7 separate regions of the Homo sapiens genome follow, and regions 2, 3, 4, 5, 6 and 7 are each linked to region 1. The links are contacts of gene promoters, found by promoter capture Hi-C in blood cells and fetal thymus (Javierre and others, 2016). All regions are on one chromosome and are shown on one strand. Each heading gives the region's core, a stretch centred on a gene start or on the middle of the fragment in contact. The rest is flanking DNA. Distances are from core to core; before and after follow the strand shown. Region 1 holds the start of MBD2 (methyl-CpG binding domain protein 2). Region 2 has its middle 5.9 kb from the start of MEX3C. Region 3 overlaps LOC107985152 (a long non-coding RNA gene). Region 4 overlaps ELAC1 (elaC ribonuclease Z 1). Region 5 overlaps MEX3C (mex-3 RNA binding family member C). Region 6 overlaps ME2 (malic enzyme 2). Region 7 overlaps SMAD4 (SMAD family member 4).

The links. The method cuts DNA at HindIII sites, captures the fragments that hold promoters and counts their contacts. A CHiCAGO score of 5 or more calls a contact.
Region 2: a contact is called between a fragment that was not itself captured here and the fragment with the promoter of MBD2 in region 1, in 8 of 17 cell types (non-activated CD4 T cells, naive CD8 T cells, total CD8 T cells and 5 more). The highest score is 12.9, in non-activated CD4 T cells.
Region 3: a contact is called between a fragment that was not itself captured here and the fragment with the promoter of MBD2 in region 1, in 8 of 17 cell types (non-activated CD4 T cells, naive CD8 T cells, total CD4 T cells and 5 more). The highest score is 15.1, in non-activated CD4 T cells.
Region 4: a contact is called between a fragment that was not itself captured here and the fragment with the promoter of MBD2 in region 1, in 3 of 17 cell types (naive CD4 T cells, naive CD8 T cells and total CD8 T cells). The highest score is 6.0, in naive CD4 T cells.
Region 5: a fragment that was not itself captured here is called in contact with the fragment with the promoter of MBD2 in region 1 in 4 of 17 cell types (total CD4 T cells, non-activated CD4 T cells, naive CD8 T cells and 1 more); the score reaches 12.2 in total CD4 T cells.
Region 6: a contact is called between a fragment that was not itself captured here and the fragment with the promoter of MBD2 in region 1, in 5 of 17 cell types (activated CD4 T cells, total CD8 T cells, non-activated CD4 T cells and 2 more). The highest score is 11.0, in activated CD4 T cells.
Region 7: a contact is called between a fragment that was not itself captured here and the fragment with the promoter of MBD2 in region 1, in 6 of 17 cell types (non-activated CD4 T cells, naive CD8 T cells, activated CD4 T cells and 3 more). The highest score is 18.9, in non-activated CD4 T cells.

The regions. Positions count from the first base shown.
Region 1 is chr18:54,223,317-54,226,016 of GRCh38, forward strand. It overlaps MBD2 (methyl-CpG binding domain protein 2), which reads right to left and starts at 1,353. Exons shown (of 7, transcript NM_003927.5): 1 at 702-1,353. The coding sequence starts at 1,243. RefSeq lists a silencer at 1,054-1,443 and an enhancer at 2,194-2,700. The HindIII fragment of the contact is 9,949 bases long and covers 1-1,719 here.
Region 2 is chr18:51,202,096-51,204,971 of GRCh38, forward strand. No RefSeq gene overlaps it. Among named protein-coding and RNA genes, the nearest start is that of MEX3C, 5.9 kb to the left of the region's middle. The HindIII fragment of the contact is 3,570 bases long and covers 1-2,876 here.
Region 3 is chr18:51,021,587-51,024,477 of GRCh38, forward strand. The region is part of intron 1 of LOC107985152 (a long non-coding RNA gene); the gene reads right to left. Among named protein-coding and RNA genes, the nearest start is that of SMAD4, 7.2 kb to the right of the region's middle. The HindIII fragment of the contact is 176 bases long and covers 1,431-1,606 here.
Region 4 is chr18:50,973,133-50,975,832 of GRCh38, forward strand. ELAC1 (elaC ribonuclease Z 1) reads left to right here. Exons shown (of 4, transcript NM_018696.3): 2 at 1,265-1,429. The coding sequence starts at 1,273. It also overlaps a transcript of LOC107985152 not described here. Among named protein-coding and RNA genes, the nearest start is that of ELAC1, 6.4 kb to the left of the region's middle. The HindIII fragment of the contact is 1,293 bases long and covers 690-1,982 here.
Region 5 is chr18:51,179,374-51,182,141 of GRCh38, forward strand. The region is part of intron 1 of MEX3C (mex-3 RNA binding family member C); the gene reads right to left. Among named protein-coding and RNA genes, the nearest start is that of MEX3C, 17 kb to the right of the region's middle. The HindIII fragment of the contact is 7,159 bases long and covers 1-2,768 here.
Region 6 is chr18:50,952,466-50,955,227 of GRCh38, forward strand. ME2 (malic enzyme 2) reads left to right here. Exons shown (of 16, transcript NM_002396.5): 16 at 1-1,792. Among named protein-coding and RNA genes, the nearest start is that of ELAC1, 14 kb to the right of the region's middle. The HindIII fragment of the contact is 7,376 bases long and covers 1-2,762 here.
Region 7 is chr18:51,041,176-51,043,907 of GRCh38, forward strand. The region is part of intron 1 of SMAD4 (SMAD family member 4); the gene reads left to right. Among named protein-coding and RNA genes, the nearest start is that of SMAD4, 12 kb to the left of the region's middle. The HindIII fragment of the contact is 1,251 bases long and covers 650-1,900 here.

The DNA.
Region 1 (2,700 bases), core at 103-2,602:
GTGGCAGCTTTCCTTTGTATTATCGAATATGTAGCAGCATCTCTGGCCTCTACCCACTAGATGCCAGTATCACACCCTCCCCAGGTGTGAGAACCGAAAATGTCTCCAGACATTGACAAATGTTCCCTGGGGAGCAAATTTTGGTCTAGGAGTCTAAAAACTTAGTACAGTGTGTCAGTTTCAAAAGAGTATATTCTGCAATACCAAGAAGTTCCAAAAAAACTTCAGGCATTCCAAATAGCTGCTTTATACAAAACTTTCTTGGATGAAGTAAATGAAACCTTGTTACTGTAGATAGCTCATTCTTCCACATGTGCATGCTTAACACTTGTGATGATGAATCTGGGACAGGCTGGGACAGGAGCCAACAGTGACTGGGTTTTATAGTTTCGATGAATTACACCTCCTTTTAACCCTTCAGTGGACTAACCATCCCTGCCAGGCTAACCCTTTCTTCGCAAACCATCTTCCCCGACGCCTTCCACATAAGATGCCCTCCTGCGGGCCCTCACCTTTTGACACTGCCTCCCACCGCACTGGGGTCAACTCTCACCCAAGGGTTCCGCCACCTTCCACCACCAAACCAGCCTGTCCCTGCCACATGCCCCCCGGGCCCCAGCGCTCATCCTCTGCCCAGGCCCGCTCTTGACCCCTGACCCCGGCCTGACCCCGCCACCCCCTCCCCGCCCCCAGGGAGGTACCTGAAGTAGTAGACATCGCTCTTGCCAGCACTTAGCCCAGATTTTCGGATCACTTCCTCCTTCTTCCATCCGGGGGGGAGGGCCGGGCAATCCATCCTCTTCCCGCTCTCCGTGGCCCGGGGTCCCCTGGGCCCCGGCCCCGCGCTCCCCGACGGGAAAGGGACCGGCTCCCGCCGGGGGGCGCCGCCGCCACCGCTGCCGCCGCCGCCGCAGCCGCCGCCGTCGCCGCCAAGGCCGCTGCCGCCACTCGGGGGACGGCCGCGGCCCCGGCCCCGGCCCCGTCCCCGTCCCCGGCCACGGCCCCGGCCCCGGCCACGGCCACAGACGCCGCCGCCCCGGCCCGCCTGCTTCCACCGCCCCCGGCCACGGCCGCCGCCCCGAGCGCCTTCCCTGCGCACGCCGCTCACCGGGGACGGGGCGAGCGCGCTGCCCTGGCCCCCCTGCTCTATGGCGGAGTCGCCGCCAGCGCCGCTGCCGCCCGCCGCACTCTCCCCCTCCTCCTGCTCCGGGCAGCAGCGGCCTCCCCCCGGGTGCGCGCGCATCCAGCCCCCTCCCCAGCCGGCGCTGCGCTTCTTCCGTAACCGAGCCCTTGGAATCCCGGAGACCCGCCCCGCCCGCAGCGCGGCGCGCGGGGGACGCGCGCAAGCATCATAGAGCGGGCGCGCACAGAGCGGCCCTCCTGCCCGGGGCGTGGCCCCGGCCACCGCCTCTTAGGTCCTCCAAGCGCTATGGGCGGCCATCTTGTCTCCGCCTTCTCGGGGCCACGCCCCCTCCCGCGCTTTTCCGGCCCCCACTGGGCGCGCGGAGCTGGGAAGGTTGGTCGGGCTAGCCACCAGCTGGGGGTGTCATAGTGACTGTGGTTAGTTTGTTTCAAACGGGGTAACCTCCACCATTATGTGATTTTACCTATGTTTGCTTCCCAATTAATGAATAACAAGCAAAATAGATCTTATATTACATACCAACTCGGCTATTCATTTAAGGGGGTGATAGCCCCTTTTCCCGCCCCTCTGCACAAAGCTTGCAGGGGAGCTTATAATGAAGGAATGAAGCAAAGTGTCCCATTCGCTGAATACCAGTTCCCTCCTGAGCCTGGCTTCAGAGCCATTGACAGATTCTCCTGGAACCTTGTAAGGATGTAGGAAAGGAAATGATAACTTGGAATATGCCCATGAGTCAGATGGGGCTTACCTCTAGATTCTCCTTAGAATGACCAGAATCCCTAAATCCATCTAGAAATTTCCAGATGTCTTTGTCTAATACAAAAATCAGTGGCCTTTTATTTGGTAAATATTCCATTATGTTGAAAGTCCAGCCTAACTTACTGTCACAAGCCTTTAGGAAACTGTGTGGTATTCTTTTCGGTCTGCCAACTTGAATTTTAGAAATGCATATTTTCTATAAGTTGTCGAACACTTATAGAAGTGTGCTATTGATATTCAAGATAATATATTATGAAATATTTGGAAGATTGAAAAATGTAAAGCACATGTTATCAGCCTGATGATAAGCTATCTTGGGTTTCTATACTCATATGCCCTAAAAACTGAGGACCAAGTTTAACGTATAGAAAAAGTTGATTAATATAAAGCAACAAAAATCTAAAATTAATTTGGTTTATCTTTGCAGTATATGCAAACATTAACTCATACACACAAACTTGTCTGTCTCTAAACCTGACCTTAGTCTTCTTTTAATGTCCTTTAGTTGAAAGACACTAATTTGTGGTTTCCTACAAGAAATTTAGAAATGTGAATGTAAAAAATCATCAAGAAATGAGTTCTGAGGAGATCAGTACTGGAGACATTCATTTAGAAGTCATCTGTGGGCCGGGCGCGGTGGCTCACGCCTGTAATCCCAACACTTTGGGAGGCAGAGGCGGGCAGATCACCTGAGGTCAGGAGTTCAAGACCAGCCTGGCTAACACGATGAAACTCCGTCTCTACTAAAAATGCAGAAAATTGGCTGGGCGTGGTGGCGGGCGCCCGTAGTCCCAGCT
Region 2 (2,876 bases), core at 64-2,563, 3.0 Mb before region 1:
GCCCATTTCTTTACCAAGCACTGCAATGCAGCCATGGCTCTTGCTGCTTCACTGAAATTATTCTCACCTTGTCAGTAAATCCATTGAGCGCTTTTTATCCTTATCCAGCTTAACCTTTCCATGGCAGGATTTGACACTATTGACTGCTCTTTAAAGCAACCTCTTCCTTTCCCTTCCTTGAGCTCTGCTTTTCTTACTTCCATGGTCATGCCCTGGTCTCCATAGAAGGCTCTGTGTTCCTATCACTCACATATGGCATCCATCAAAGATCAGTCTCAGTCAGGCCTGCTTTTGCTTACTGTATACTCTCCACCTAAACTTTTATCCATTTCCAAGGCTTCTATTACCTTGTTGACAGTTCCCAAGTACATATTGCCATTTCTTATCTCTCCATTGAGTTCCAGACCCACAAGTCCCACTGTTTTATGGATACCTGGAATTGGCAATTCAAATTCAACCTCAGTTTAAACTCAATTTCTCAAACAAATCTTCTCAGGTAAAATTGATTTTCAGCTTAATAGTGTGCTAGATAGCACCATTGTCTACTCCATTCTTTTGACAAAAGCCTGGTGGACATTCTTGACTTCTTCTTTAACTCCCATAGCCAGTCAAAGATCAGGTTCTAAGGGTCATACCAATTCTCAAATCCATCCATCTTTCTGCATCTCTACCACTGTGATAGAATAAGAAATTTATCTTTGATCTTTATCCATAATTTGTGGTACAGAGCTCCTAAAACTCTTGTAATTTCCTGAATAATTGGTGGTGATAGGAGATTGAGTTAATAAACATGCATGTATGATAAAACCTCCATTAAAAAAAAACCCTTGGAGAGCTTCTGGGTTAGTGAAGGCACACACATACCAGGAGGGTAGTGTGCTCCAACTCTACTAGGACAGAAGCTCCTGAGCACAGGATCCTTCCAGATCTCACCCTGTGTACCTCTTCACCTGGCTGTTCGTTCGGATCCTTTATACTCAACCAGTAATAGTAAGATGCTTTTCTGAGTTCTGTGAGCCACTCTAGCAAATATTTGTGTCCCTGGGAACCCCTGACTTTGTAGCCAAATTGGATAGAAGGTTGGGTACCCTGGATACTCAAAACTTGTGTTGGCATCTGCAGTGGGGCAGTCTTGTGGGGCTGAGCCCTTAACCTATGGGATCTATGTTAACTCCAAGTAGTTAGTGCCAGAACTGAATTGAATTTTGAGACACCCACTCGATGTCCAGAAAGTTGGAGCATTGTTTGATTTGGAGACAAAACCCCATACATTTGGTGTTAGAAGTGCTGAGACTAAAACTGTTCAGAACCATCATTACCACAGTCTAGATGATGAACAGGAGTCCCCAAGACAAATATTCTTACATCTAGTCTTGCACCACTCTAATTCATTGTCCATGCTGCAGCTGGAATAATTTTAATTCAGGATTACTTCTTCTACTTCTCTTAAAACCCTTTTTGTCGTCCTTAGGATAATATCCACATTTCCTAACATACAAGGTCTTCTGCATCTGGGCTATGTCTACCTCTTATCCTTGTTCATGCTAGGCTTCCTTTTACATTGTTGTTCTTACCATAAAGGCCTTCTGGCAAGTGTTCATATATTCTACATATTCTTCTTATGCCTCCAGGCCTGGAATAGGGCTCTTCTGCCTTCAGTCTTTTTTTTTTTTTTTTTTTTTTGGAGACGGAGTCTTGCTCTGTGGCCCAGGCTGTAGTGCAGTGGTGCAATCTCAGCTCACTGCAACCTCCACCTCCCAGGTTCAAGCAATTCTCCTGCCTCAGCCTCCTGAGTAGCTGGGATTACAGGCACCCACCACCACACCATGCTAATTTTTGTATTTTTTAGTAGAGAAGGGGTTTCACCATGTTGGCCAGGCTGGTCTTGAACTCCTGACCTCACGTGATCCACCCGCCTCGGCCTCCCAGAGTGCTGGGATTACAGGTGTGAGCCATGGCACCTGGCCTCTCCTTTCACTCTTAGCTAAGCTAACGTCAATACAAGTTGTCCTTCAGAGCTCAGCTTAAACATCACTTCCTCTAGGGTGTCTTCCCTAACCTATTAGGTAAGGTAGATGTCCTGCAATTGGCTCTTATGGTGTCCTCTATGTCCCTAGCAACACTTTGCATTCTTTGTTCTGGAATTGTCTCTCTTCTTCTCTTCTTTATAAAGCCAGCTTTACCATAGCACTTGGTACCTAGGAGGGGCCAGTATGTCCTTGCTGACTGACCAACTAAATGGATATTATTTCAAATAAACTCAGTTCAACAGCTAATCTGAACCTTTGGCCGTTTTTGAAATATGCATTGTACTATCCCATCTTTGTGCCTTTGCTAGTGTTGTTTTTCTGCTCAGATTGCCCTGACCTTCTATCCCACCTTCCCCATCTCCACACATTTTTAATCCTCAGCTTACATTTGACTTCTTCCAACCTACATTCCTAGTCAATAGAATCAGGGCTAGTCCTTCCCTTCCTCTCCCCAGGAAAATACATATGAAGGCAACATTTCTCGTATATTTCTGTATGCTTAAACGACCCCTTAAAGTCTACCCATGGATCTCTTGGGGTTCTGTAGGCCTATGAAACAGACTGGCTAGATGTTCACTAAATCTGTTTCCTCCTCTTCCTGAGCACACAGCTAGACTACATTTCCTGGCCTCCACTGTGGTTGGGAAGACTGAGTTTTAGCCAAGTGTACAGAATTTCCTTCAAGAGTCCCTCATATTATCATCCTTGTTCCTCCTCTATCTGTGGATGTAAATGAGTATGATGAACTTGGAAGCCACATGTTAAAGATGACAGAGCCGCAAGATAAAAGGAGCTTGAGTCACCACATGGAGCAGAGGTGCCCTCCAATCAGATGTACCTGTTTCA
Region 3 (2,891 bases), core at 269-2,768, 3.2 Mb before region 1:
AAATTATACCTCAATAAGATTTTAAAAAAAGAAGAAAAAATCCCAAGCATATCTGGTCCTGAATGGAGTTCAATTCATCAGCACAGCTACCTTCGTTGTCTGGCCCCAGATCCATCTTCCCAGCCTCATCTCTCGCTTCTCTGACACTTGCCATGGGCAAGCCCAGTGTTGGGCACTCAGAGAACGTGGGGGAAGGAGAACCTCTATCTTCAGGGAACTCACAGCCTAGTCTGGGAGCAGAAAGAAAGGGCAGCCAACTCTGACACAGCAGGGCACCATTCCTAGAGGACCACTGAGTCCTAAAGGACAGGAACAAGAATATTCCAGACACAGCCTGGATTCCAGTCATTTTGAATCTCAAGTTTGAATCCAGTTTCAATCTAATATTTTGAATAGGTAATACATTTCTATGGCTGTATACTTTAAGCCAAAGAGATGACAGAGTTTATTTTATTGCTTTTAGGAATGTGGGAATCACTTGTAATATTTAGGTTAATTGATGTCAAGTAATTTTCAGGAGCAACTGGAATTATTTTAAAAATCACTGGATTAAACTGGGTGCAGTGGTGCATGTCTGTAGTCCCCAGCTACTCAGAAGGCTGAGGCAGGAGGATCACTTGAACGCAGGAGTCTGAGTCCAGCCAAGGCAACACAGCAAGACTCCATCTCTAAAAAACAAAACCAAACCAAACCCAAAACATTGGGTTGACACTAAAATATCATGATGCTAACTTGTGCCAGGAGGTCCTTTACTTGAGGGAAGAGCACTCTGTCTCCATCCCAAGGATGAAAAGATTAAACTTCTATATTCTCCTCACCCTTAGAAAGCTCCTATTCATAGGAGGTAAAACCATTAAATAAAACAAAAGGAAAATAAACCTTTCAAGTCTTTGCCTGCGCCTATCAGAGATCTATGTGGAACTGGCAGTAGCTTGGCTCCCTTTGAGTGCTTTGGAACTATGGTCTTCAAGATTTCTTGCTTGCTTTTCTCCTAAAAGAAATTTGAAAAACTGTGTTTTTTTCTTCCTTCCTTTCTTTCCTTTTTCTTTCTTTCTCTCTCCTTCCTTCCGTCCTTTTTTTTAAAATAAGAGATAGGGTCTCATTCTGTCACTTAGGCTAGAGTGCAGTGGCATGATCACGGCCCACTGCAGCCTCAAACTCCTGGGCTCAAGCAATCCTCTCACCTCAGCCTCCTGAGTGGCTGGGATTACAGGCATGAGCCATCACGCCTGGCTAAAACTGTTTCTTCTTGAACTTTTAAAGGTCATATCTAAAATGTTTCATCACAAGTTTAAATAATAGTAAGGTTTGTTATTTCTGGCGTAAGTATTGGCATTTTAAAATAAGATTGTTACATCATTCTTTAAACGTATCCAAGGAAATTTAAAGATCATAATGCATCTATCAACCATTTAAAAAATATATGAACAAGCTTTTCTTTAAAGTAAATTTTACATCACTTTTTTTTTCTTATCTTGTATTTCCATTCCACTTACCCCTCAATATTTTAATATAATATTTTAAGCTGGAGAGTCTTTTATTGATCAACCTATCATATTTCCCTACAAAAAAATTTTTTTAAAAAAATTCTTGACTGAGTCTGATAAGCTTAAAAAGCTCATTTTGATTGTATAATTTTAATATCTAATTGATCTAAACAACATAAAATATTACATATTTTGGTATCTATTAAAATTAAAGGATATTTTTGCTGAATGAAATAGAATTGGGTCAAACCTAATCCTAGTTTTCACTTCTATGGATAGAAGCACAAACACCTTGTTCATTCATTCAACAAATATTTATTGAGCACCTCCTACGTGTCAATAGCTACTCTAGGCACTTGGGATACACTGGTAAACACTACAGATAAATCCTTGCCCTCATGGAGCTTACATTCTAGCGGGGGGTAATAGGCAATAAACAATAAACACAACACATAAGTAAATCATATAGTATGTCAGAAGTGCTATAGTAAAACAGAAAGCAGGGTAAAGGGGCTTTGGGTGTACTGTGAGAGTTAAGAATGGGCTGTGATTTTTAAAAGGTCAAGATAGGCTTCAATGAGGTAACTTTTGACCAAAGGAGGTGAGAGAGTTGGCAATGCAGATATCTGGGGGAAACATGTACAAGGCAGAGGGCACAGCCAGTGCAGAGGCCCTAACTTGGGAGCATGGCTGGCATCTTCTAGGGACAAGAAAAGAGGTCGGGAAGGTTAGGACATATTGGAGAATGACTGATAGGAAATGAGATTAGAGAAGTAATGCTCAGGGTGGAGTGGTGATGCTGATCTTATAGAACCCTTTAGACTATTGTAAGGATGTAGATTTTTACTCTAAATGAAATGAGGATCATTTAATGCAGGGATTTAAGCAGAGTGCAGATGTCTGACTTTTTTTTTTTTTTTTTTGAGACGGAGTCTTGCTCTGTCACCCAGGCTGGAGTGCAGTGGCGCGATCTCCACTCACTGTAAGCTCCGCCTCCTGGGTTCACGCCATTTTCCTGCCTCAGCCTCCCGAGTAGCTGGGACTACAGGCGCCCGCCACCACGCCCGGCTAATTTTTTTGTAATTTTTAGTAGAGACAGGGTTTCACCGGGTTAGCCAGGATGGTCTCAATCTCCTGACCTCGTGATCTGCCCGCCTTGGCCTCCCAAAGTGCTGGGATTATAGGCGTGAGCCACTGTGCCTGGCCCTGACTTCTATTTTAAAAGGATCTCTCTAGCTATTATGTTGGGAAGAGGCAAGCATGAGAACAGGGAGAGCTTTTAGAAGATGAATCCAAAGATGAGATGATGGTGGCTCAGACCAGGGAGCAGCAGTGGAGGTGGTTAGGGATGCTCTGTGGATTAGACATGGGTGTGAGAAAACGAGGGGAATCCAGAATTGCTGG
Region 4 (2,700 bases), core at 86-2,585, 3.3 Mb before region 1:
CCCCATTTCTGTTTTTATCTTGTTATTGCTAAGACTGAGAAGAGTTACTGAAGTTTTTGTATATTTTATATCTAGCTGTCAGTCAAATTCTCTTACAGTAGTTTTTCTTAAGCTTCTTTGTTTTCTTCCCTGCCATCAATGTGGATAATCTATAATCAGTTATGTATAAATTTCAGTTCATTCTAATATATTCTGTTTGATACATATATTCCATCTCAGAAGTATATCAGTGATGTCAGATGTACCTAGAAATAGTGAAAGGAATAGTGCCAGGAGTTGGAATAAACCTGCACATTCAACAGGTTGTTGCTGATCACTTAAAATAGCAGAGTCCCAAGTCCTCGTGAGTCATGGACCATGTCATGTAGGGAGTGAGACATTTGTTCAGCATTATTGTGAAATATCAGCATGACTATAGAGCATAATAGAGCATTACTGTTATGATTGTTCAGAGAAAGGGAAAGGGCTGATCATTATGGGCATCAGAGACACCATATGGTGAGTATCATTAAATACCATCTCTTGCCCTGTATCTCAACTAGAGTTGTTGTTGTTTAGTGTTTATTAGAAGGATTTTTTTTAAAAAAATTAGTAAGTAGAAAGTACAGAGTGTTCCCATATACTCTCTTATCCCTCACCCCTCAGTTTCCCCTTATTAACATCTTGCATTAATGCGGTATATGTTCAGAAGCTTAAGGGCTCATGAAAAAAAAATGAAAAATGTGCTACATGTGTTACAGTTGTTGAGCCAATATTGATACAGATACACTGTCAACTAAAGTTTACATTAGAGCTCATTCACTCTAGTGGTGTTTATTCTGTGTACAGTTGACCAATGTATAATGACATATGTCTGTCTTACTGTATCATACAGAATCGTTTCACTGCCTTAAACATCCCCTGTGCTCTGCCTGTTCATTCTTCCTTCTCTCACCCTGTATCACTAGCAAGCACGATTTTTACTGTCTCCATAGTTTTGCCTTTTTGAGAACATCATATAGTTAGAATTCAGCTATAGTTTTTAATTGCCTGGGTTTGGTTATTTTTGTTTGTTTGGGTGTGTGAACAATTATACAAGATTTGTTAACTTGTAGTTTTAGCCAAGTTATTAAAACCTTACTGTGGATATGTGTGGAATACTATGAGAGACCAAGAATCCAGACTGTTCTAAATAACCAAAAAGTAATAATAGAGATAAATATTACAGGAATATGTTTTTGGTACAGTGATATGAAATAATCCCCAGATGATCTTTCTGTTGCAGGGTGGAAGATGTCTATGGATGTGACATTCCTGGGGACGGGTGCAGCATACCCATCTCCAACCCGGGGTGCCTCTGCTGTGGTCCTTCGGTGTGAAGGCGAGTGCTGGCTCTTTGACTGTGGGGAGGGAACACAGACACAGCTTATGAAAAGCCAACTTAAAGCAGGTTAGTGTGCCTTCAGCTATCTCATTAAGATTTTTTTGTTGTTCTGCTTCATTTTCTTGGCTCTCCTTGGACATTTTGTTTAGAAACAGCCCTGATGGTTGCATCCCACTTCAGTGCTACACCCTGGTGAGACTTGGAAGGCCTGCAGGCATCTGGCCACGTCCACTGAACTTCATTTACTTATTTACTTGCTTTTCATTTATCCTGTAGATGCTGAAAGCAAGGATTCATGTAGGCTTGGGGTTTGGGAAATGTCGTGGGATACACCAGGCATATTAGATGAACACTGCCTTAGCAAGGAAGCAGTGTACATACTTACCTCCACCAGGAGATAGTTTTCATGAGAGGATGCAAAGGGTAGGAAATGTTTGGAGGAGGGAGATGTTGTTTTCCTCTTGGGGTTATCAGGGTAAACTTCTCAGAGAAGTTGACCTGTGGATTGTCAAAGGAGGAGGAGGAATTTCAGGGCTGAGGAGAAGAAGGGCATTTCAATCAGGGGGAATGGAGTGAGCAGAGGCCAGCACCTGGGAGATAGAGCAGTCCAGTGGTGAAAAGCTTCAGCTCAGAGTCAGGCAGACCTGGGTTCTAGTCCTGGCTGTGTCTTGGGCCTGTGACCTTAGCATATCAGCAAACTTCAACTTTACTTTCCCGATCTTGAAAATGGGGATAAAAAGTCTACTTAGAAAGGGTGTTATGAGAATTACATGTAATCATTTATTCTCTGTGTGATTGCCTCTTTCTCAGTTAAATCTTAGCTCAGATGCCATCTTCTCAGAGGCTTTCCCAAATCCTCCTGGATTAAGTAGTTCCTCTCTCACCCCAGTCATTCCTTTACTTTGTCCTATTTTTATTGACTTCTTAGCATCATCAGTATCTGAAATTATGTTATTTAGTTTGTTTCTGTGTTCTTTATCTCCCTATACTGTAAAGTACGTTCCATGATCATTTATATACCTAGTAGATGCCTAGTTATATCTGTTCAACTAGGCATCTACTAAGTATATAAATGATCATGGAACTTACTTTAGTGAATGGATAAGACGTTTAGCAACTTAGCACAGTGCCTCTCACTTATTAGGTCTTGATAAATAGTATTGAAGTCATTATTCCTACAACTCTTCACAGTACCTGGCACTTGGTGACTAAAGGAAAGATACTTCTAGTGTTCAGGGATCTCTTGGTCCAGTGATGGAAACTGACATGCAAACGGACAGTAATCAATCATGTAATGTGATAAGTAGAATAATGGAAGTATTTTCTAAGTACTTTGG
Region 5 (2,768 bases), core at 41-2,540, 3.0 Mb before region 1:
AAGCATTCCCAAGCCACTAGGTGTTGACTACACAGGTTGAGTTATCCCCTATCCAAAAACACATGGGACCAGGAATGTTTGAGATTTTGGAGTATTTGCATCATACCTGCCAGTTGGGCATCCCTACTCTGAAAATCTGAAATGCTCCAGTGAGTATTTTCTTTGAGCATTATGCTGGTGCTCAAAAAGCCTCAGATTTTGGAGCTCTAAAACAAAATCGGAGGCTTTTTGAGCATTTAGGATTTCACATTTTCGGATTAGAAGTGTTCAGCCTGTATGTGCTTTTGTTCTACAACAGAAAATCAGTTAGAAGAACAGAGAGTACAATGAAACTTCCACATCTACGTATCATTTATACAGGCTAAATGTCCAGGAGATTCCCTCATTTAGTGCAGCAGGTGCAGTTTGGTGTGCAGAATTGAGATCACTTTCTATTGATGCTTAAGAAATTCTGAAAGGGGTGTATAAACACAGAACTGGTCATATTCTATACTCAGGGGAGTTACTATTTGGATATGTAAGTTCACAGTGGGCTACAACTTGACAAGGTGGCAAGAAGGCAGTCAGCCACAGTTACATTCCTAACAAGAGACAGACAATATTCTGCAGAAAAACACTGGGCAAATTGCATTAAGGACAAAGGGAGAATTAGTCTAAGGGTCTAGGGTTGGTCCCTTTCATCCCTTACTAATATTGACCATTAGAAAACTGAAAATAAATAAAAGAAAAAAAAGGAAAACAGAAATAAAAGAGAAAAAAGAAAACTATGTAAAAATCCCTTAATCAAATACTTTTGATACTATAAGCAACTGTCAGTCACACCCTTAGTAGAATATTTTCTGTTAAATACCTAACAGGTATATTATTAACTGAGGAAATATGCTTGAGGGTCCACAGAACACTATCTAGCCTATGGTTGGTATTAATAAATAGGTGTTTAATGTATGGTTCATTGGGTACAGAGAAGACAAATGGTTTGAGCATGGGCCACTCTTGAGACAGGGGAGAAAGACAGGCCTGGTCTACACCCAAAAGGGTCATGTGTTTATTAGGTTTTGCAGATCAGGGAAAAAAGTAAAAGGAAGACAGCAAAGCCAACCCTGGTTTTTTTTTGTTGTTGTTTTTTGAGATGGAGTCTCTGTCGCCCAGGTTGGAGTGCAGTGGCACCATATCGGCTCACTGCAACTTCCGTCTCCTGGGTTCAAGCAATTCTCCTGCCTCAGCCTCCCGAGTAGCTGGGATTACAGGTGCCCACCACCACACCCGGGTAATTTTTAAAATATATTCTTAGTAGAGACGGGTTTTCACCATGTTGGCCAGGCTAGTCTCAAACTCCTGAACTCAGGTGATCTGCCCGCGTTGGCCTCCCAAAGTGCTGGGATTACGGGCGTGAGCCATCGTGCCTGGCCACCAACCCAGTTTAAGCCACTGCCAATAAAGACAGAGGAAACTATTTCTTCACTTCCCTAAATCTTTTGATTATAGTATCCTAAACTCAGATTAGGGATTATAGGGAAGCTCACCAATCATACCACTGTTTCTGTAGGAACACATATTCTGAGTTCCAAACAACTAACATGATTTCTCAACTACAAATACATTCTAATGTTGGGGACTACTCGAATAGATACTTTTTAAAAGGTGACACAAACTAAAGGAGAAAAACAATCTTGTTTTGTAATTTTGCAGGTGACGAAGGTATTAGCTTTTTTGAGTACTTTGAGTTTTTATTTGAAAACTCGAAGATATTTTTAAAAATAATAGAATTTATAATCTCAGAGTGAAATAAAATTCAGAAGCCGTATTATGATATATTAGCCTGTATTTTTTAAGTTGCTACATGGCACAAGTCACCAAAAACAAAGTAAAAAAACCTAAAATATTTATAACATTATTAGAAATGGCTAATTTCTCACTTTCTTACACACACACAAACACACACATACACGCATGCACACACACATCTCTCCCCTACAAATCAAAACAACAAAAACCCAATAAAAGGGTGAAAGAAACAGCTAACATCAAAGTAAATATACAAATGGCTCTGAAGATGGAAATTCCCATTTTCAAGGGAACTGACCTATTATTTTCTACCTATAAGATTGTCAAATAACAAAAACCTTACAACAATGCTAGTAAAGAGTGGGGAAAAGAACTCTCATATTTAGCTGTGAGAGTATAAACTGCCCTCTAAGAGCTATCACAGTTATAAGCCCATATATTCTTACGCTTCTACAATCTTCTTGTACAATTGATCCTGTAGAAATATGTGCACAAGTGCAAAATAACTTCTGTATTTTATAATTATTGTTTGAATTAGCATGAGGCTGGTACAGCTATATAATGGAATGCTATACACTCATAAAAGTGGTTGACCTAGGGGGACAGGGAAGGAGGGAGGCAGTTTTCACTGTATATTCTTATTTATTTTTTTTAATAAATTTTGAGTCATACATACACATTACTTTTTCAAATAAATATGATTAAGTTAGAAAAGAAAAACAAATTAAATATACAGAAATGATACACTTTACTAGTCTTAGCATATTGATTAGACGTTTGGTTAGTGCTACTGATATTATTTTAAATTACAGTAGCCCCCCTCCCTTATCTGCAGTTTCACTTTCTATCATTTCAGCTCCTTTCAGTCAACCATAGTCCAAATGCAGGTGGGTACAGTACAGAATAAAAAGATATTTGAGAGTGAGTAAGACCACGTTCACCAACTTTTATTACAGTATATTGTTATAAGTCTTCTATTTTAT
Region 6 (2,762 bases), core at 237-2,736, 3.3 Mb before region 1:
CATAGTTCAGTTGCATAAAATAGACACATTAAGTCAAGTGATTTGAATGCTTAGTGTCTTTTGGTAAACAGCATTTTGTCAACAAACTTTTCATATGGCTATAGAATCTTGTTTTTTCCAAATAAAAACTTTGCAATTGGGAGTTATTCCTCCATTCAGCACACTTTTTAATGTTAAGACTAGGGGAAACTTGTGGGTATATATTCAGTGGTTTTCAGGATTTTCTTTTATGTTCTAGAAAAGTAATTTTTCCTTTCCTAGTTTTAAGTATATATTCAAGCAAATCGTTGATTCCTATACAGCCATTGGATTATCACCAACACATTTGGTATATACAGTGGGCCGATAATGACAAACTAAAGTTTGTGGTTAATACCTACTCTATACCAGACACTGTTCTAAGGATCCGACATATTTAATCCTCTGTTTACCCTCTGTTTCTGTGCCTGATTTACAGACAGAGACAGAGGCACAGAGAGGTTAAATGACTTGTCAAAGGTCTTATGATGTGTGGCAGAGCCTGGGTTTTTAGCTCAAACCCCTCTCAGTGAAGAAAGCCTTCTGTGTAGGCAATTTCATCTAATACCTTCATGAATTGTTACTTCAGATGAGAATTCTCACTTATTCTTTTTTTTTTTTTTTTTTCTTTTCTTTGAGACAGCCTTGCTCTGTCTCCCAGGCTGGAGTGCAGTGGCGCAATCTCAGCTCACTGCAAGCTCCGCCTCCCGGGTTATGCCATTCTCCTGCCTCAGCCTTCCGAGTAGCTCGGACTACAGGCGCCCGCCACCTCGCCCAGCTAATTTTTTGTATTTTTAGTAGAGACGGGGTTTCACCGTGTTAGCCAGGATGGTCTCGATCTCCTGACCTCATGATCCACCCGCCTCGGCCTCCCAAAGTGCTGGGATTACAGGCGTGAGCCACCGCGCCCGGCCTCACTTAGTCTTTTACCAGTTCATCTGATTTTTACTTTGTTCCCATTTATAATTCAAATATAATATAAACGTCTTATTCATTTAGTCTTCAGCATTTTAAGTATTCGACACGAACATTAAAGATTTGGTGTTGAATTTAATAAATTACACCAAAAAGTCTCAGTAGCCAATTCACTAACATCTTTTGATTTGGTAATCTTCACAGAATCAACAACTGTTAACACTTCTGTGCAAATAAATTTCAGTTGTGCTTATATATTATAATATTCACTTTAGGAATCCACCTGTCAATTTGCAATTCAATTATAAGGTATATTTTAAGTGATATCTATGTATTGTATACACATATTCCATTGAAAGGTGAGAATAATTAGAAAGTAGTAATATAAAAATGTGTATGAAATAAGAACTTTCTTAAAAGACCTAGTTTAGCTAAATATATGACAATATAAAATGTCTGCCCAATGTTTTATTATACTTTGTCTAATGACCTTTAAATTTAACTGAAATTAAAACCGTACTTTTGCAGTTGATATTTTTGTGTTCCCTTTGTTAACATACCAAGCACTAATTATTGACTTCAAGGAAGCCACGTATTGCAAGTCATTGCTTAGCCTTTCACATCTGAGTGTTGATAAGATGACGGAATGGGTAGTCTTGTAGTAATTGCTTATGGGAATGCTAGTTTAAGAGGAATGCCTTGTATAGAACATATTATACCAGATTGACTTGTTAAAAATGGTTCCAAGAATCAGTCTAAAAACTTCAGAATTATGTGAATTATTTTTTCTCTGTTGTGATATGTTGTAATGAGATGTGTGTTCTTATATTTTCTTAGTAAAATTTTCTTAAGCATAAAATGCTTTATGATCTTGTTTTTAAAGGCTCTGTGTATAGGACACTTTTAAAACTTGGTAATATAAACCTTAACACACACTCTCTCTCTTTCTCTCTCTCTCCAGAATACTTGATCTCTTGGGAATGTATTGTTGGACTTAAATTCACCTATGGAGTACTAGTTTTGCTCCTCATCTTTTCATTCCCTTTTGTTGAGCTCCCTACCCTATTCCTCTTCTTACTTGATTTAATTATGATACTAAAGGAATTCTCTATCGCCTTTTCTTCTCCCCACTTCTCACACGCAAACACCAAGACCCTAATGTTAAGATACTAAATCAGGAGAGACTATGTTGATTTTGTGATGAAGGGGGGAATTATATAATAACAAATACCTACTGAGACCCTCAGATAAAAGTTCTTTTTTTGCCTCAGGATTCATGAATAGCTCCCAGGAGTCCACGAAGCCCCTGAAATAATACATGATCCTATGCTTGTGTCTCTTGGAGGGAGAGAGTCCATCACCTTCATGAAAGGGCCCTTTCTTTTCCCGGGATAGGTTGAGAAAAACTAGCCTACGCCTCTTTTTTTTTTTGAGACAGGTTCTCACTCTGTCACACAGGCTGGAGTGCAGTGGGGCGATCTCAGCTCATTGCAGCCTCTGCCTCCTGAGTGCAGGTGATTCTCCCACCTCAGCCTCCCAGAGTGCTGGGATTACAGGCGTGAGCCACCGTGCCCGGCCGGCCTACACCACTTTTTGACAACTCCATCATACTTCTTTATTGGGAGGGCTGGCATGGTGAAAGGCCCCAACTTGCATGGAGGCTGAAATAGGTAGCCAGACCAATAAAGGCCTATCGTTGCCTCTATAGCAAATAACACCTAGATACCTCAGCAAGAGCAGTGGGTCAGCAGCACCTCCTTCCCCAAATACAACTGCTCTGTTCTTGAATCCTGAACAGTGTGGACCTCAAATACCACCTGGTCTGTGTC
Region 7 (2,732 bases), core at 25-2,524, 3.2 Mb before region 1:
GAAGTTTTCTAATACAAATCTAATGCTGTTTTTTCTCCTCTTTCTACCATGAACCTACTCTAGACAAAGCTCTTATCCGTCTCTGCTTTTCCTCATCATTTTCCTTCAGCCTGGCAAATTCTTATTCGTATGTGGTAATCCATTAATACTATTCTACCAATATTCTGATGGCTGTCCCCTGGCACATGGTAGTATTGTGCTTCTTTGTCTCCCTCATCCCTACCTTGAAATTAGGCATGGCCCAGAGTTTCTTGCATTGGCACTGTTGACATTTTAGGCTGGATAATTTATTTTGCGTGTTGTCCAGTGCATTGCAGGGTATTTAGCAGCAACCATGGCCTTTAGCCACCAGATGCCCAGTAGTATCCAGTTGTGACCATATATTGCCTCCAGATGTTGCCAAGTGTCCCCTGAGGGACAAAGTTGCCCCTGGTTGAGAACTCCTGGCATGGCCTTATGACTTTGGCCAGTCAAACATGAGCAGAAGTGGTAGCCTTTAAAAGAAGATATATGAGCTGTCCTATCCCTTCTCCTGCCATTTAAGGACATATGTAGAAATGGAGCCTTTGTCAGTCTAATTTCTGAGCGATGACAGCAGTGCCCCCAGTTGATCTGTGATGAATGTGTATTATATCCTAAGCAGAAAATAAGCTTTTGTTTTAAGCTACTGATCTTTTGGGGGTTGGTTGTCACTGCAGCATAGACTAGCCAATCCTGACTGATACGTTGTGCCAAGACCTAGGTTACCTATGAACTTTCCATGCTCCCTCATTTATAGTCCCAAATCACTTTATACCTACTTCTTTTAGCATTTATTACTTATGTAATAATATGTTTGGGTCTTCCAGATTAGTAGTTCTCAGTGGAGTAAGTACTGCTCTTTAAGGGATGTTGTAGAAATTTGTGGATGGGTTTGGTGGATTGGTGGCCAGGGATGCCATCCTGCAATGTGAGAGACAGCGAATAATTATCTTGCATCCCACAAGACTTTCAGATGCCCCAGAAATTCATGTAGGAGGAAAATATAATTAGCCCAGAACCTAACTCTATAATATATATTCACTTTGCCAGGAGTTAAATTTCTTTTAATTCATTTTTTTCTTGCCTGCCTGCCTCCCTCCCTCCTTCCCTCCCTCCCTCCCTCCCTCCCTCCCTCTCTCCCTCTCTCTTTCTCTCTGTTTTCTTTCTTTTTCCTTCCTCCCTCCCTGCCTCCCTCCCTTACTTCAGGCTCTGTTACCCAGGCTGGAGTGCAGTGGCGTGATCTTGGCTCACTGCAACCTCTGCCTCCCAGGCTCAAGCCGTCCTCCCACCTCAGCCTTCTGAGTAGCTGGGACTATAGGCATGTGCCACCATGCCCCACTAATTTTTTGTATTTTTTGTAGAGAGGAGGTCTCACTTTGTTGCCAGGCTGGTCCTGGCAACCGTGCCTTTGTTGCCAGGCTGGTCCTGAGCTTAAGTGATCCAACCATGTCGGCCTCTTAAAGTGCTGGGATTACAGGCATGAGCCACTGTACCCGGACTTGGTTGTTTTGTTTTTTATTTTTGAGACCAAATCTTACTCTGTCACTTGGGCTGGAGTGCAGTGGCTCAGTCATAGCTCACCGTAGCCTTGGTCTCCTGGGCTCAAGCAGTCCTCCTGCCCCAGCCTCTTGTTAATTCATTTTCTTAGTTCAAGTTGTTTAAGAGTTCACCATTTGGGAAAATCCATGTTACTGACTGCAGTGCCATTGTGCTATTTGAGTTGCCAGTATAACACGTTTGTCTTGGAAGGTCTGAATTTGTAGCTGTCACATTTGTAATGATTCTGTATATAAGTGCTAGCATCTAACTTCTTTATTATACATTCTAACTTAGTTGGCATGCCTGAGTATTTATAGGTGGAAGTACACATTATATATTAAGCTTTTCCTCCTTTTTGTTATAGTTAGGGCATTGTTAAATTTTCAAAATATGTTTAAGTAGTTTAGAATTTTGTTTCAGTAAAGCTAAGGTGGTGATATAAATTATTTGTTGGAAAAAAAATGGGATGTTGGTCTGAGAGAGTCCAGACCCACTTTCTTACTATGGGCTTCCTGTTTTTGTATCTGTAGTGCTTTGTATATACAGTGTTTGTTGAATTGGTCAATTTATGTTTCCCACATTTCTTTTATGTACGTTGTTGCATCTAATTACCACAATAAATTTGTGAAGTTGTCAGGGCAGGTGTTTCCATTTTATAGATGAGAGAATTGAGAGAGATGTTAACATTCAGTCATGCGGCTAGACCTTTAATTAGAATATATAATTTTATTTATATCGATATTATGCTCTTGCCTACCATACTTCCATAATCTAGAACCATTTAATGTAGGAATACATCTCTTTATTCCTGCTAGTATTATTTTTTATATGCATAACTTTTAATTATGTTTCAGGCACTTGTGGTCATAGGAATACAATAAAGAGAGAGATGAGAAAGCTGTTTGTTTAAGAAAGCGAGGTCATTATCATTTGTATTCAAAGCAACTTGGTATTAAAACAAACTTTGAGATACCGTTAAGGCCCCAGCATAGCATAAATTTTAGAAATGATGACATTTGATGGTGAGATTGTGGTGAAATAGTTAACACTTAAACATTTTAATTGCATTGTAGATTCATACACATCTTTTGGAATATAATATCAGAAAATGACTTCAAAAGTGTCTGCACTCTTCTAATTTGTTGTAAGACAATTCCACAGAATAAAAAGCT